Linked DNA regions of Homo sapiens: region 2 is linked to region 1. The links are contacts of gene promoters, found by promoter capture Hi-C in human tissues and cell types (Jung and others, 2019). All regions are on one chromosome and are shown on one strand. Each heading gives the region's core, a stretch centred on a gene start or on the middle of the fragment in contact. The rest is flanking DNA. Distances are from core to core; before and after follow the strand shown. Region 1 holds the start of HEATR4 (HEAT repeat containing 4). Region 2 overlaps NUMB (NUMB endocytic adaptor protein).

Region 1 (4,133 bases), core at 1,337-3,836:
GTTGCAGTGAGCCAAGATCACACCAGTGCACTCCAGGCTGGGTGACAAGAGTGAAACTTCTTCTCAAAAAAAAAAAACAAAAAAAACTTAAGGAATAGTTATTATCATCCGATATGATGGCTTATTAAGAAGGAAGGGAACACATGATAGGTCTGTTTTGAAAAGGAATGGGGACAGAACAAAATGTTACACAAGGTCTGATCAAAAGAGGCTTGTTCTGGCTTGTCTTTGTCTGTCTTGGAGTCACGGGACAGGTGTAAGGCCAAATTGTGCACTTCCCAGTCATGTTACCTTGGGCAAATAATTTGAAATCTGTAGTTTCCCAATCTGAAAATTGAGTCTGATACCTGTTCTAATTTAGTGTTGATTGATATGAACCTCAAAATTAGAAACGTATGAAAGTTCTTTGCAAACTAAAATATATGTGTGAGGAATTGTTATTATTAGTTTAGAGGATGGACTGTTGTCCTTAGAAGGCAAGTCTCTGGGTCCTACAGTTAGATGCACTGGGCGCTTCGGGAAGAATTTAGGGCTATGGGGTACTCAGCAATTAAAAGAGAGGGTGCTTAGAGAAGAAAGAAAGGACTTATTAATGGAGTTTGGAGGCTCCTTATTATCGAAACTTACACATTACGTGACCAGCATTATGAGGCAGCACCCCACTCCCAACAAATAGCCCTCTAGAACCAAAAGCAGAGTGGCAGGTCCGGGGTCCTTTTGTACATAGACAGCATAAAAAATTGACTAAGTCAATCCTGGCATAACTGCAGACCAGGCCCTGGAATGAGCAACCCACCAGCATTATCTGCATTTCTAGGAACTTGGGCTAGAAGGGGAGGAATGGGGTTGGAAGGGTTAGGCCACATGCCTCTAGTTAAAACCTGATGAACTTCCTAGATCCCCAGCTGGAAAACGTAGGAGTTGGACTAAATTCCTCTCCTGCCTCTAATATTTTATGAATACAGAACTCAACTCAAACTGGGTAGTATCTCAGAGATTCCAAATTTAGTTCCACTTTTCTGTTTGCTTATCAGTCGCTTACCCTCACCCTCTGGTCTGATACCTTTATCCTGTACAAGTGGTCAAAGTAGGTTGAGTAACATGTGCTAAAAGGAGTAATATCTTGCATTCTCCCTTGTTATTAAAATAGAGGAAACTGCCTTGAAAGAAAAGACTAAAAAGCAATAAGCCTTAGTATCAGTATCTTCTGAAAGCTTTAAAAAAATAATACTCTCATCTCTACCAACAGATTTGGATTCTGAAGTTCTGAGGTGGAGTCCAAGAGTGTGCAGTCAGCTTCTGGGGTGGTGTTTGTTAGATACAGTTTTTTGTTTATTTATTTATGTTTGAGACAGGGCCTCACTCTGTCACCCAAGCTGGAGTGCGGTGGCACAGTCATGGCTCACTGCAGCCTTGCCTCCCAGGCTCAAGCAATCCTCCTGCCTCAGCGTCCCCAGTAGCTGGGACCACAGGTGTGCACCACCATGCCTGGCTAATGTTTTAAAACTTTTTTTTGTAGAGACAGGGTCTTACTATGTTGTCCAGGCTGGTTTCAAACTCCTGGAATCAAGTGATCTTCCTGCCTTGGCCTCCAGAAATGCTGGGACTATGCCTGGAATAGATATGGGTAAAGAACCTTTTACATCAGACTCTTGTGTCCTACTCCCAGAATGCTGATTCAGTAGCCTGCAAGTGAGGCCTAGAAATCTGCATTTTCACAAGCTCTCAGGTTTAATACACAATACATTTAAAGAAAGCACAGCCCAAAGGGTGTCAGTGGGGTGTATGAAGGAAGCCTGGTTAGTGGGGAGAGTGGGATTAGGGAACAGCTGCTTAACCTGGCTTGTTTCAAGTCCCCCTTTCTCCCTTTTTGCCCTCAAAAAGTTCCCCTCATTTTTTCCCCTCTACTTTCTAATTTTTTACCATGCACTCACACAGCTATACAGCTATCTCCAGAGATTACTCTGGAAACTCTGCTATAAAGATGACCTGGTCTAATGCCTTGATTTGTTTTTTTTTTTTTGAGACAGGGTCTCACTCTCCTGGAGTACAGTGGCGTGATCATGACTCACTGCAGCCTTGACCTCCTGGGCTCAAGCAATCCTCCCACATAGCTGGGAGCATAGGCACATAGCACACCACTCTCGGTTAAATTTTTTTTTTTTTTTTTTTTTTTGTAGAGATAGAGTCTCACTATGTTGCTCAGGCTGGTCTTGAACTCCTGGACTCAAACAGTCCTCCCACCTTGGCCTCCCAAAATGCTGGGAATACAGGCATGAGCCACTGCACCAGGCCTAATGTCCTGATTTTATAAATCCCAAAACTGGGGCCCAGAGAGAAGAGAAATCATTAAGATCACCATACTGCTTGGTATCTAAAGTAGTACTGACCCTTTTGACACCTAATCCAAAGTTTTTTCAGCTACCTCAGGTTGCCCCTCATCTTCCAGCTGACACCATCCAGCACCTTTCAGATACTGGCAAAGGAGCAGTGTTTCAAAATTACTTTCCAAATGGCCTCCTAAAAGGCAGTCCTCAGAGAGAAGCAAGGTTCTGCATCTTAAGCCTTCCTTGGTTTCTTAGGTTCCAAAGCTGTTTCTATCAGTCTCCAAGCAACCAACTCTTTAGAATTCCATGAGTCTACTCAGAGAACTTGTGGGTTCAGTCGGGGGTATATCTTCAACCATTTATTAAATTTCCTTCTTTGTAAACTGAGCTTTGAGAAATTGCATCTTATTTATTGATTATTTATTGAATGGTAGTTTCATGGAGTTTTTGGTCTTTTTTCTTTTTTGAGACAGTCTCACTCAGTTGCCTAGGCTGGAGTGCAGTGGTGCGATCTCGGCTCACTGCAACCTGTGCCTCCCAGGTTCAAGCAATTCTCCTGTCTCAGCCTCCCATTACAGGCCACACCACCATGCCCCACTAATTGTACTTTTAGTAGAGATGGGGTTTCACCATGTTGGACAGGCTGTTCTCAAACTCCTGACCTCAAGTGATGTGTCCGCCTTGGCCTCCCAAAGTGCTGGGATTTGCAACTGTGAGCCACCACACCTAGCCTCTTGGTCATTCTTTGAAAAATAAACCTCAGCCAGGCGCGATGGCTCACGCCTGCAATTTCAGCGCTTTGGGAGGCTGAGGTGGCGGATCACCTGAGGTCAGGAGTTAGAGACCAGCCTGACCAACATGGTGAAACCCCATCTCTACTAAAAATAGAAAATTTAAAAAGAAAATCACCTGGGCCTGGTGGCGCATGCCTGTAATCCCAGCTACTCGGGAGGCTGAGGCAGGAGAATCGCTTGGACCCAGGAAGCAGAGGTTGCAGTGAGCCAAGATCAGGCCATTGCACTCCAGCCTGGGCAGCAAGAGTGAAGTGCAGTCTCAAAAGATAAAAATAAAAAAACCCTCTAGATATATGCAGCTCCATATTCTCCCACCACAAGGGTTTATAAATCCTGAGAAAGAGGCAAAGCAGGGAACACATGACCACATAGTTCTGGCAGGCGTCAGATTACCAGGCTGATAAAACAGATGGTAAAGTAGAAGCTGTCCGTCGACTTTTCCATTCCCCTTTCAGCTCCTCCACTGCTACTTAATCTCCTTTGCCCACACAGTTCAATCCCATTTTCCCTGATCTCTAAATCCTGGCTAGATTATTAGCCATTAACACTAGCTTTTACAAGGAGACTCTTCAATCTTGTATTTCTAATAGTATAATTTCACACGTACAGAAATTCTTTAAGTCATAGAAGTCTTACAGATACAGAAATTCTGATCTTCAAGAGTCCCTTTGTGAAACAAACTAATTTATCCTGACAGCAGGAAAGATTTCTGGGCCTAAGGCTCTGTCTCGTTGACCCAGGTCATGCTATTCAGGTGGTCCATCTCTTGGTTCCAAGCAAGACTGCTGCTGCTGACCAACCTGAATATGGACTTTAGCACTTGAGCTCAAGCTGCACTCAGATGGTTAGACCCCCATAAAAAGCAGAGGGTACGTTTTCTGTTATGAAAAGTAAAGACTGAGCCAGGCGCTGTGGCTCACGCCCATAATCCCAGCACTTTGGGAGGCAAGTTGGGCGGATCACGAGGTCAGGAGATTTAAACCATCCTGGGTAACACGGTGAAACCCCATCT
Region 2 (4,668 bases), core at 1,759-4,258, 260 kb before region 1:
ACAGGTGTGAACCACCGTGCCTGGCCGGTATTTCTGTTTTTATAATAGTTGAAAGTATACTCCAACTCAGTTTTGTTTTTTTGTTTTGTTCTGTTTTTGGAGACAAGGTCTCACTCTGTCACCCAGGCTGGAGTGTAATGGCACGATGACTCACTGTAGCCTCCAACACCTACGCTCAAGTGTTCTGCTCGCCTCAGCCTCCCAAGGCATGTAGAATGTAGCTAGGACTACATGCATGTGCCACCATGCCTGGCTAATTTTTTCTTTAACTTTGTAAAGATGAGGTCTTGCCATGTAACCCAGGTTAGTTTCCAACTTGTGGTCTCAAGTGATCTTCCTGCCCTGGCCAAAGTGCTGGGATTATAGGGGTGAGCCATCAGGCCCAGCCAACTTCTTTCATTTGTAGTAGTCTCTATGCAAATACATTTTTAATACCATACTCATATATGTTAGCCAACAAATACATTTAAGAACCCTGAAAATACTTCCAATAATTAAAAGTTTCAAATAAAGTTTAGCAACCACTATCACCAGACCATTTTTACCTTCCTTTAATGATCTTTGGTTTCAGCCAATCATTTTGTTCAGTGAGTTGCAACTCCTGGGGTTACATCAAGAGTGTGAACTATTTGAATAAAAGGAGCTGAAAGTAGGCTAGTTTAGGCACTTCCAAGTACTTGTTAAAAATGTAGTAGAAACCGCTTGGCTGAGCAAACCCAGAAAGAGCCCAGCTAACTGAGAATACTCATCATGAAATACATATTTGCTGGACTCACTGTGTCCTTGACAGCCATGAAGCAGTGACAGATCCAGCGACGAGTGGTGCCATCACGGCATATGTAAGAAAAGGCTCTATCAAAGTTCCTGTCTGGGGCACAGAAAGAAACTTTCTCTATCGTCTGGTCAACTATGAGGTCCTAGAAAATACGACACACAAAGAAAGAGAAGACTTATGAGGTTATCTGAGCTTCTCAGAACACAGGATGTTCATTTCATGATGCACAATCCATACATCTGATACAACTAGGCTATGGAATACCTAGATCTGTGTCCAGCAGTTTAAATACTGAGAATTGGACTCAGCAGACATCCCAAGAGGCACTTTGCCCAGATACCTCTCTCAACTACATGTTCTAAAGCATATGCTTGTTGATTCTAGTTTTACATCTCTTTCATGGTAGATTCCACATTCAACAATATATGTAAATCAGTATCTTTAATCCTTTGGATAAAAAAAAAATCCTTTGGGTTTATTCCCAAATATAAGCAAATACATATAATAGTCATGTTTATGCTAACTTCGTTACACAATGAACACTACACACACATACACACAGTTCTGCACCTTGCTTTTTTACATTATATATACCCGATCCAGTGAAGTTACTTCAGATACTGTATTTTTCAGGTGTGGAATTTCCACTCGTTTCTTTTTCTTTTTTTTTTTTTTTTTTTGGACAGTCTCACTCTGTCACCCAGGCTGGAGTGCAGTGGCGCGATCTTGGCTCACTGCAACCTCTGCCTCCCGGGTTCAAGCAATTCTCCTGCCTCAGCCTCCCAAGCAGCTGGGACTACAGGCGTGTGCCACCACGCCCGGCTAATTTTTTTGTATTTTTAGTAGAGACAGGTTTCACTGTGTTAGCCAGGACGGTCTCAATCTCCTGACCTCATGATCCACCTGCCTTGGCCTCCCAAAGTGCTGGGATTACAGGCACGAGCCACCGTGCCCAGCCATTTGTTTCTTTTTCATAGTTTCTATTCTCTGCCAAGATTTCTATCTCTTCATTCAACATGAACATATTTCCTTTCTGTCACTGAGTATAGTTATAATGCCTTCTATACACTGTTTTCATTTCTGTTAAGGTAGCAGTCTACTTCAGTGTACCATTTTCTGTACTAGTTGTGGTGATGCTATAAACACAAAACAATACAATGACTCAAATACAAGAGACATTTATTTCTTGGTCAAATAGTGAAGGCGGGCATTTAAAATCTGTCTGCTAATTCCAACATCTGAGTCATCTTGAAGTTAGGTCTTTATTGATTGTTATTTTGATGAGAATAAGTCAGACTTGTCTGTTTTGTTGTATGCTGAGTAACTGCATTGTAGTCATTGTGAATGTTGTATGTGGAAAGAATGGATTCCGTTACATTCCTTGGAAGTGTCATATTTTTGGTTTTATCAGGTAGCTAATTTGATTATACTCAAATGGAAAACTCTTATCTTTTGAACAGCACCTCAGACATCAGGGCGTTTTTGTTCTTTTTTTGAGACTGTCTTGCTCCGTCATCCAGGCTGGAGTGCAGTGGCGCAATCACTGCTCACTGTAACCTCAACTCCAGGGCTCAAGCATCCTCCCGCCTCAGCCTCCCGAGGAGCTAGGACTACAGGTGCATGTCACCATACGTAGGTAATCAAATATCAGTTTTTATATCCTTAGTTGGGCTATTTGGAGTCTGCCTTGAATCTACATGGCTAAAAGGGTCAGAGATTTGGGCAGAATTTATGAACAGAATTTGGGACTACTCCTTTTTGGCTTACTCATTTCCAGGATTCTCTTTTTACTTTCTTTTTTTGAGATAGTCTTGCTCTGTCGCCCAGGCTGCTGGAGTGCAATGATGCAATCTCAGCTTACTGCAACCTCTGCCTCCTAGGTTCAAGTGACTCTCATGCCTCAGCCTCCCAAGTAGCTGGAACCATAGGCACGCACCACCATGCCCAGCGAATTTTTTGTATTTTTAGGAGAGACAGGGTTTCAGCATGTTGGCCAGGATGGTCTCAAACTACTGGACTCAAGTGATCCACCCGCCTTGGCCTCCCAAAGTGCTGGGATTACAGGTGTGAGCCACCACGCCCAGCCTCTCTTTTTACCTTCTAGTGGCTACTGTTGCCTCAAATTCTGTCTTCTGCACTTTGGGACGCCGAGGTGGAAGGACTGCTTGAGCCCAGGGGTTCGAAACCAGCTTGGGCAACATAGTGAGAACCCATCTCTAAAAAAAAAAAAAAAAAAAAAATTATCTCAGCCTAGGAGGCTGAGGCTGCAGTGAACTATGTCTGTGCCACTGTACTCCAGCCTGGGTGACAGTATAAGGCACTGTCTCAAAAAAAAAAAAAAAAAAAAAAAGGTAGGAACACTATCAGAATCAAGATAGACATGAGTTGAGAGGTGGGATAGCAAGGCAATCTGACAGAGCTTCTTGCTCAAAGGTTAAGGGCTTCAGATTTCAGCTTCTGTTTCATAAAAATTTGTGCAGATCATGGCATGGTGTTATCACCAATACTGATCCCAACATGGTATTAGTTCCCGCTTATAGTGAAATACAAGGTGGGAAGATGGTCCCAATGGTGACAAGCCACCAATGACTACTAATTACTACTATTCAGTGTGGAAAAAACTAAACTAATGAATGCCAGTGGTGTAAGTAGCCACAAGGGGGCAATATCACTTTCCAACTATTGTATAAAACAATTAAATACATAGCTTTCAAGTATAACAAATTTCATCCAAACACTAATGAAAACTACACAAGTTCCAAAAAATAATTAAAATGATCACTGTTTCCAACAGTAATGTACTAAAAGTGAAGACTATTGCTTCTCTTGAACTTAAAAAAAAGTATGCAATGTAATAAGGTCAAATAACTAAAATGCAGCTATATTAAACCACTTGAAATTTACCAGGCAAGTTGCCTATCAAAACTGCTTTTTACCTGCCAGACTTTCTCCCCTTTCAGTGGCATTTGAATTTTTTTTTTTTAATTATCTTCTTGTTAAATTTCTTCCTGACTTTAGGTATTCTAGGAAATTTTAATTAACAATTAAATGTACTTATATAACACCCTATGCTTTCTAGGGGTAGAGCTGTGTGTCTATTCTTATTTAGGCATTTAGGATCACTGTCTCTCAAATGCAAAATGGTACCTATGATTTGAGATATTATTTGGATTCTAAGTAAATGTTAACCAAAGAGCCATTCACTAGTCCTTAAGATGTCACTTAAATTGAGTTTTGAGTCAAAAGCCAGGTTAATTAGTTCAAATATCATTTTCTTAAAATAGTGTTTTCTTCAGAGCAAGAAGAAATTTCAGATGTGGAGTCCATCTTTTTTTAATTTTAAAACATGGTAAAAGGATAGTCTATCATCTATTGTATCAAATTTGTGAGAGTGGAAACTTATTAAAAAATATATAAGAACAAAAATAGGCCACGAGCGGTGGCTCATGCCTGTAATCCCAGCACTTTGGGAGGCCAAGGCGGGTGGATCACTTGAGGTCGGAAGTTCAAGACCAGCCTGACCAACATGGTGAAACCTCATCTGTACCAAAAATACAAAAATTAGCGGGGCATGGTGGTCTGTGTTTGTAATCAGCTACTTGGGAGGTTAAGGCAGGAGAATCGTTTGAACCCAGGAGGTGGAGGTTGCAGTGAGCTGGGATCGTGCCACTGCACTCCAGCCTGGGCAACAAGAGTGAAACTCCATCTCAAAAAAAAAAAAAAAAGAACTCAGATCTTAACACTAAATGCTAATGCTTAGTACCTTAGACATGCTATGTCATGTAGAACAATATGTTGAGAGAATACTATTTCTCATAAAGTAAATGAGTAACTAAAGTGGTTTCCTGAACGTTAAATAGTCTCTCAGGAGATTGTACTTTGGACTAAGTGGA

Evidence for each region. Contacts are between HindIII fragments. The study calls those that stand out against the background at their distance.
Region 2: a contact is called between a fragment that was not itself captured here and the fragment with the promoter of HEATR4 in region 1, in 1 of the 25 tissues and cell types used here (mesenchymal stem cells).

The regions. Positions count from the first base shown.
Region 1 is chr14:73,556,361-73,560,493 of GRCh38, forward strand. HEATR4 (HEAT repeat containing 4) reads right to left here and starts at 2,587. Exons shown (of 18, transcript NM_001220484.1): 1 at 2,391-2,587. RefSeq lists an enhancer at 3,419-3,588. The HindIII fragment of the contact is 20,630 bases long and covers 1-4,133 here.
Region 2 is chr14:73,291,958-73,296,625 of GRCh38, forward strand. It overlaps NUMB (NUMB endocytic adaptor protein), which reads right to left. Exons shown (of 13, transcript NM_001005743.2): 8 at 777-917. Among named protein-coding and RNA genes, the nearest start is that of PAPLN-AS1, 48 kb to the left of the region's middle. The HindIII fragment of the contact is 3,425 bases long and covers 1,297-4,668 here.